Linked DNA regions of Homo sapiens: regions 1 and 2 are each linked to region 3. Evidence: promoter capture Hi-C in human tissues and cell types (Jung and others, 2019). All regions are on one chromosome and are shown on one strand. Each heading gives the region's core, a stretch centred on a gene start or on the middle of the fragment in contact. The rest is flanking DNA. Distances are from core to core; before and after follow the strand shown.

Region 1 (2,700 bases), core at 45-2,544, 43 kb after region 3:
CAGATCATGAGGTCAGGAAATCGAGACAATCCTGCCTAATATGGTGAAACCCGTCTCTACTAAAAATGCAAAAAATTAGCCGGGAGTGGTGGTGGGAGCCTGTAGTCCCAGCTACTTGGGAGTCCCTGAGGCAGGAGAATGGCATGAACGCGGGAGGCGGAGCTTGCAATGAGCTGAGATCGCGCCACTGTACTCCAGCCTGGGTGACAGAGCGAGACTCTGTCTCAAACAAAACAAAACAAAACAAAAAAAACAGCTTGTAAAGGTCTGTAGCCTAGGAGCAACAGGTGTATACAGCCTAGGTGTGTGATAGGCTATACCATCTAAGTCTGTGTAAGGACGCTCTATGAGGTTCGCACAACAAAGAAATTGCCTACCCACGCATTTCTCAGAATATATCTCTGTCATTAAGCAACACAAGACTGAACCGTTAATAAATTTTATATTTTCTGTAAATGTTGATATTCCTTTTCAAGTTTCAAAATGTTTTTTAAATGTTTCAAAATGTTTATTTTTATTTTAAACTCTGCTTTATGAATATTAGCTATTTATGATCTATGTTGGATTATTTCCAAATCTTGTCATAAAAATTTTGATTTTTAATATAGCATAAATATCTATTTTTTATTTATTGCTTGTAAGATAGGAAGATCTTCCTTATCCTCATATTGTACATGTAGTCTCCTAGGTGTCCTTATAAATTTTAATTATTAATACTGTAAGTAATTATGGATTTTTTCAAAAATTATAGTGTGAGATAGGAATTTGCCTTTACTTTCTTCTTGATTGGCACCCACTAATCACATGTATCAACTAAAACTTTTTAAATTTCACTTAAAATTCCACCTTCATCATTAATTAAAATATATTAATATATATTCCTAGATTATGAGTAATCTTTCTTATATCTATACAAAAATATAATGATTTGATTACAGTGGCTTAGATTTTGGTATGTGATGTTGCAAGTCTCTATACATTTTTTGGCTGTTTTTGAGTATTTAATTGTCCATAGCTTAAATTAAAAGAAAAATTTGGGATTATGTGTTTAAATCCATTAAACTTATCATTTTTCTTCTTCTCTTATTTTAAGCCCTGGTGACTTATCCTGAATCCTCCATAAAAAAAAAAAAAAAAAAAAGAACCTAAGAAAAGAATCAAAGAAAGGGTATCTTATTATAAGGTGCAAAAATGAGGTAATAAGAATAGAAGGAAACCAATAGGGGCAAGAAAGTTATGCTGCAATGGAAATAATGCATTGCCATGTTAGCAACTGATTTTACACAAGTCTGAAACAAATAGAGCAAGCTATTCCAACAGCTCTTACTGGACACTTGGGACTTCTCCTAAAAATCTTCAAGGAGAAACTCTTTCTCATTGCAGCACAAAGTAAATGGATTAAGGCATATTTATCTGCCTGGCTCCTACTTGCCCTTCCTCTCCTTCTCCAAGGTTTTTTCCATAAGCTCCCAATTTTACCATCCTCTCAGATTGTCTCATCCAGCCTCTCCAGCAACCATGTTAGATCATAAACCCTATAACCTACAGTGTGATTCTGCATCCAAGTCTTCAGTGGGAAGATGAACCAGAAACTCCAGGCATACAGCTGATTAGTCTAGCTATGAACTGGTAGTGAAAAAGAGTCTGGTTCTCCCACTCTACATAAGTATTCAGCCTCTAATTGTAGCAGCAGGGTTCTGGGAAACAGAGGCAGTTTAAAAAATACGAATAGACACATACTCTTTGTTCTGATAAAAGTGGATTCCTAAAATAAATCAGAGAGTTATCCATCTTTTTCTCTAAAATACATATTTTGGGCCATAGAAATATCTATAATCCAAAATGGCTGCTGGAGAGGCTAAAGTATATGTGTGTGTGTGTGTGTGTGTGTGTGTATGCATGTGTGTGTATAAAATATATAAACATATATTTAAGACATATACACATATACACAAATGTATACATGTATACATATCCTACACACATATAAAATATGTGTATATATTTTATACACACATAAAATATGTGTATATATGTTATGCACACATAAATATACATATATATTTTATACACAAATATATATCTCTGTTATTTATAGAATAGATTGAATGCAGTGGAAAAGTTTTTGTTTTACATAGACATTAGACTAGATAGATATTAGACTATTTAGAAACATCTAAATAGTTATTTAGATACAGCCTTATTTGAAGAACGTGACCTAGATAGAACAATATCTTAATTCCTTTTCTAATACGCTTAAGAGTTTTATGAATTACCAGTCTAAAATAATGTTATAACCACTTGAAGAGTAACTACAGATGATTACATTAACAATAAAAAATTAAATTTATTTCCAGACACTGGAGAAATTTCAGTGGAAAGATTTGTGTTCATTTTGAAAGTTAGGATAGAGCTAATTTAATAGGTGTATATTAAAATGTCTAATCAATCTTAGTATTTCAAAGAAAAATTGTAGAAACATATTTCTAGAATTTAATTGGCTGACTTATCACTATTTTTAGTAGTAGTTCACAAAACTCTCTTTCCTACAATGATTTCTTAATAATGTTGAATGAAAAGTGACAGTATAACAATGAAGATAAACAGAATTTCTAGTAATCACGATCTGTTTATTTAAGAATGTTATATCTATGTTATAATTAGATTCTAAAATGTACTACTCTGAAAGATGTTGTTCAC
Region 2 (2,700 bases), core at 60-2,559, 45 kb before region 3:
CCTGCCTCATCCTCCCTAGTAGCTGGGATTACAGGTGTGCACTTCCATGCCCAGATAATTTTTGTATTTTTAGTAGAGATGGGGTTTTACTATGATGGCCAGGCTGGTGTCAAACTCCTGACCTCAAGTGATCTGCCAGCCTCGGCCTCTCAAAGTGCTGGGATTACAGGTGTGAGCCTGGCCTTCTTTATTTTAAAATAATCATATTAATAAATTATTAAACTGAAAAATGTGAAGATTTCACTTCAAATGAAAAAAATCCCTGGGGAAAATGAACACACACATGCTCAGAAACCGTAGAAGTAAACCACAGTTTTTTTAAAGAGAATTTTCTGCTGTGTCACTGTATTTGTTTTTCTGCCAGATAATGCAAATGATATCAATATTAGTCTGCAATATGATGCATTTTATTTGAAAATGTTATTCAAAAGCTTATCTCTAATGCTGAAATAATTCATAAGAAAAAATTGTTTCTAAACTTACGACCTCTAATGTACATTTATTTCACTCCAAAATAAGAACCAAATAATGCTATTAAAAGGACTATACTAAAGGTACTAGGAGAACACCGTTAACAAACATGTTCATATATATACACAAATAGGAAAAATGGTGCATTAGAAATAAACAAAACTGCAAAAAACAAATATGTAAATCCCTGATAATTTTTATAAAACATAATCTTTCTATCCATACTTTACTACTGCCTTCATTCACATGAGTCAAATTATGGCCCAGTAAATATAGCTTTCTTACCTAAAAAACAGAAATTGCATCTTCAACACAACAGTGCAGTCATGAAATTCTACTCCAATTGAAAACAATGCAATTTCTGGTTGCCATTTAGAGGTATATTTCTTCTATTTCTAAAATAAGTTAGTTTAAGGGCCATAACATGCAGCTGGCAACTTATTTGTTCAAAATTTTCCACTCACCCTTGAGCCATTAAAGAATGGTGATATTCAGAGGCCATATCACACAATACAAAAGTGAAATCCATGATTTTAAATTATTAAGCTTTAACCATCTATCCATCTGAAATTTCCATCCTCTAAGGCACCATGTGTGTTTTAGTGTCTATAATTTCAGCATAAAAGAACATGGCATTTCGGGGCTGATACTTTTTGAACAAGATAAGAACTCTCTGCTTTTGCCTATCGTTCTACTGCCACGTTAAGAGGTGGGACTGAATTAAAGCTTCTGAGTCTACAGGACTAAATAGAGGCATGATCCTGTTTTCATGTTTCTCAGCTGAATACTAATTTAATCCATCTGTGGAAATTTGTGCATTTGCCATTAGAACAAACAAAATAATGGATCTGGTACAGTTTAGGATTAACCATCCAGAAGCTGAAATTTACCTAAAATTCACACTTAATGGTCATATATGTTATTTGGGACTGTAGCAAAAGATTAGTTGTCTGTATCCATCAATTATAAACATAGTCTATGTTTGCTTTTAATTTTTATGAAAAATACATAGTTTATAAGATGTTTCATAAACATATATCAATTATAGTGTTAAATTTATTGAAAAGAAATAGAGACCAAAAAAATCTATTTTAGAATACATTGTTTCATTAACCTAGTTATCATTAACGAACTGAGTAGTTCGGAATATTGTTCCAAATTAGAATTAAAGAAGGTGGAAGTTTTTAGTTTTGTTTTATGGACCCCTGTCCACATCTTCACCTACTTTTCATAGACCACTGCAAATATTGCAACTGCTCTCTTCTTTCTGCTATTATTTGCTCTGTAATCCATTCTCTTCAGACTGTCAAGGAACCTTTTAAGAAGTATACAGATCAATCAATTATACTCTGATTATAAACTTTCAATGATCTCCCACTGCATTTGGAATAATACCTGAACTTAACTGTGGCATTGAAAGCCTCTACGATCTACTTTCTGGGTTCTTATTAACCTCATCTAAGATTAACACCCTCTAACATCATGTTACTTGTCTTCCAAGTCCTTTTTCTGATGAGTGATTCTGCTATTTTCTTTGCCTGGAATGTGTTTTCTTCCCTTTCAGCATTTATATGGCCCAACCTCATATTCCAGGCCTCAGTTCAGTATCACCTTTTCAGAGATACCATCTCTTACTATAACCCTTTTTAGACCCATTTCTATTCCTATTACTTCCCTTCTGTTTTCCCCTTTCAGTTCTCCTTATTCCCCTAGCAGCAATGGTCACAATCTGAAATTATTATGCTATCTACCTATCTACCTCGTTCCATTGTCTTCTGACCTGCAATTTTCTGAAAAGTAGAAATCAATCTTGTAATTGCTCCTTCATATACTTTTTAATTTTTGTTTACAATATAAAGGCTATAAGTTTTGGTCATGCTAATTAACATGTTAAATTTTTGCCACTTATAAAGGTGAGAAAAAGATGTGTGTGCTGTAAAAAGTTGAATTATATGTGTTCTTGAGCATTTCTAGTCTGCTAAAATATGAGCTACAGAAAGTTCTCTATTATCCCCACCCCGGTTTTCTGCGAAATTAGTTACTTTGGTTAAAAATTATAACTAATATGAGTAGTAAAGACCACACTAGGAGTAATATTGACAGAGTAAAATAACCATGTCTTTTTGTTTTACCAGCAAACATTAGTTTCACCTAAAGAAATGGTTATTTATTTATTTATTTTTATTTATTTATTTATTTTGAGATGAAGTCTTGTTCCCTCACCCAGGC
Region 3 (2,700 bases), core at 144-2,643:
GTAAAAGTAAAGATTAAAATGTTTCTCAACACAACTATACGGAAGAGGAGGTGATAATCTTGTCAGTTAAGTCCATAGAAATGTTCATAAAAGCAAAAGGCACTGACCATATTAACATGCCTATTAAACACAAGGGTTGGGGGCAGACAAGTATGAAGAGTGAGGCAATTAAATTTTTCATGTAAAGTCTATTCTTGAATTTCAATTTATCAGAACCAAGATAATCAGGGGTTTCTTCTGATTGCTCCTCTCTGAAATGAGTACTCTGTGTCCAATTAACTGTTCACCAGCTAATTCACAAAATCAGAAATGTACTGACAAATACTATGCCTGAATTAAAATACAATGCCTAAAATAACGTGCTTATGTGTGATTTGAAATATTTTAAGAAAAAAAAATGGTGCCCTCAAAACTCACAGTCCTCTTCCTACCATTCAGTGGCATTTTAGTGCTTAAGGTCTTGCTAAATTCATAAAAATACACTTTGCAACAAAGTCTTCCTTCAGTCATGTAATTGCTTATCATGAACAAATGCTGACCTGAACAACCTTCTGAATATCCGACTAGCGAACTTTCCAGACCTTGCAATTGTCAGAAGGTCTCTTTTAAGCTCTCTCTTAGATAAACCTATAAAATGTGACATTTCAAATGGCACAGGAATGTGTGCCAAGAAGGGTTAATGGGGGTGGGGGCGATTAATGTCCGTGTAACCCATAATATAAATGAGGACAAATATTTTAAAAATAAAGAAGGTAAAAGATATTGGGGTAATACATGGGATATTGGGGTAATACATTACATGGGTTATGTCTTAGCAGTGCAGTTGCCACTAACATACTAATTAATAAATATGGCCATATGGATCTTTCAGTTCTGAAAGTAACAAAAATGTGAAAAATGAAATACTTCAACAAAACAGAGCTTATTAAAAATAGCAATAGTTAAGTTTCTAGTAACAGATAAAGAGAATAACTTACCAGAGGAAATTTCAGGAAGCAAGAAGACTGTGAGAAAAATACATCCAGGATTCAAATAGATATTCCATGATCTTCCAAATCAAGGTAAAGTAGTGAGCTGCAGGGTAGTAGGACTTTAAAATAATCAGCAGTTCCTGGTGGCATGTAACCAAGTAAAAACCAGTTACACAGAGAGCCACGAACCCCCAAGGCAAGAAAGCAGAATGTGAAAATGCTTTATATGGGGGGGTGGGGAATGGTGGGGGGTGATTCGTGGTGATCCTTAAGCAAAGTGAAAATTTACAGGCTGCACATCCCCATACAGTGGGGAAAGGCAGAAGCTGTGTAACCCCAGAGAACAGGAGGTGGAATACAGATAAATCTGCAAAGAGAAGTAAAAGGATGTGTTGAAGACAACGAGATAAAGAGAGAACTAGTGAGCAAGGCTGTAGTCATCCTGATAGATATAGCAGCAAGAATGATTTAGGCTGCTGGGGAGGATCCAATGAGAATTCAAGAGGGCACCACTTCGGAAATCCTGCTCTGATCTTCCCACTCTCAGTTCTTTAAGAGTTACCTGCGTTGGGACCATTATCATTAGGATTAATAGTATTCCATCAGTGCATTTCACTAGTATTTCCCTTGAACATTTTCACTTGCAGCAACTGAGGGAGGCGTAGTAAGGAAGCCCAACACAACCAATTCCCCCACTCCCCAAATAAACCACTACGACCGGTCACATTACGATGACCAAATCATCAGCGATTTGCACGAGGCGGTGGGGGGTGGGGGGTGCGGGCGGTGATCGAAGGGCTGAAGATGCGGAGGAGGCCGAGTCGCTAGGCGCTTTCGGGGGCGCTGTGCCGGTGAGGCTTAGGCAAGGGGACGGGGAACCGTGGTTAGATGCAGCAGCGGCGGCAGCAGCCCTCCCAGGTCCCACTTCTTTGGCGTTCCTGCTGCCTGTGACTCAAGACAATTGACTTCCACCTGAACCCTCAGCTCCGAACGCCTTGCATTAGAAGCTAGAGCTTTGGAGGTTCTGAGGACGGTCCCTGGGGAGCAAGTGGTAGGTTTCGAGGCGCCCGCTTCCCCTCTGATTCCTGCAGTAACTGAGAGAGAGTGTGCCAGAAATGGCTTTGCTGCCGAATGCATTATCTTGCCATTTTCGTGTCCCAATACTGAACAAACGATCGCCTGATCGATCGGTAAGATTAGCTTTATTCCTTCTCCCTATTCCTCTCCTTGGCCCCATTCCCTCTGCAAGTCCAAACCCCAGTCTCTCTCTCTCTCTCTCTCTCCCTCCCTCTCTCTCTCTCTCTCTCTCTCTCCAGGAACTTCTTCCTCTTTGAAACCGGTTTCCCAAGGGAACTGCCTGTGTGACTGAGAGGCTAGTAATCTGTTTGTAGATGATTTATATTTTGGCTGCAGAATGAATCCCCCTCCCTACTCGGAGTACTCTCCTTAGAGATGATCCCCCGCCCCCTCCCCATGGGTTCGCTCTCAGAGCTGGGATCTGTATAAAGAGCGCTGTGGGAGTCTTTTGCCCTCCGCTCTAGCTCTATCTTCCTCCGGACCCCGAAGCTTAAGAATTATCCGCCTCACTCTCTTTTTTAGAAATAGGAGGGAAAGGTAGAGTGGAAATTGATTTCTTGCAGAGACTGAGGCGCTGAATGATAGAGGGAATAAACATTTGCCCTGGATAAAAATGTTCTTGGTAAGTAATCTTATTTTCTGCGGTTGAAAA

The links. Contacts are between HindIII fragments. The study calls those that stand out against the background at their distance.
Region 1: a contact is called between a fragment that was not itself captured here and the fragment with the promoter of BRINP3 in region 3, in 3 of the 25 tissues and cell types used here (IMR-90 fibroblasts, aorta and hippocampus).
Region 2: a fragment that was not itself captured here is called in contact with the fragment with the promoter of BRINP3 in region 3 in 2 of the 25 tissues and cell types used here (dorsolateral prefrontal cortex and hippocampus).

What each region holds. Positions count from the first base shown.
Region 1 is chr1:190,519,697-190,522,396 of GRCh38, forward strand. No RefSeq gene overlaps it. Among named protein-coding and RNA genes, the nearest start is that of BRINP3-DT, 43 kb to the left of the region's middle. The HindIII fragment of the contact is 4,269 bases long and covers 1-2,700 here.
Region 2 is chr1:190,431,466-190,434,165 of GRCh38, forward strand. The region is part of intron 2 of BRINP3 (BMP/retinoic acid inducible neural specific 3); the gene reads right to left. Among named protein-coding and RNA genes, the nearest start is that of BRINP3, 45 kb to the right of the region's middle. The HindIII fragment of the contact is 5,643 bases long and covers 1-2,700 here.
Region 3 is chr1:190,476,471-190,479,170 of GRCh38, forward strand. It overlaps BRINP3 (BMP/retinoic acid inducible neural specific 3), which reads right to left and starts at 1,394. Exons shown (of 8, transcript NM_199051.3): 1 at 978-1,394. It overlaps BRINP3-DT (BRINP3 divergent transcript), which reads left to right and starts at 1,790. Exons shown (of 3, transcript NR_110716.1): 1 at 1,790-2,022; 2 at 2,612-2,670. The HindIII fragment of the contact is 15,526 bases long and covers 1-2,700 here.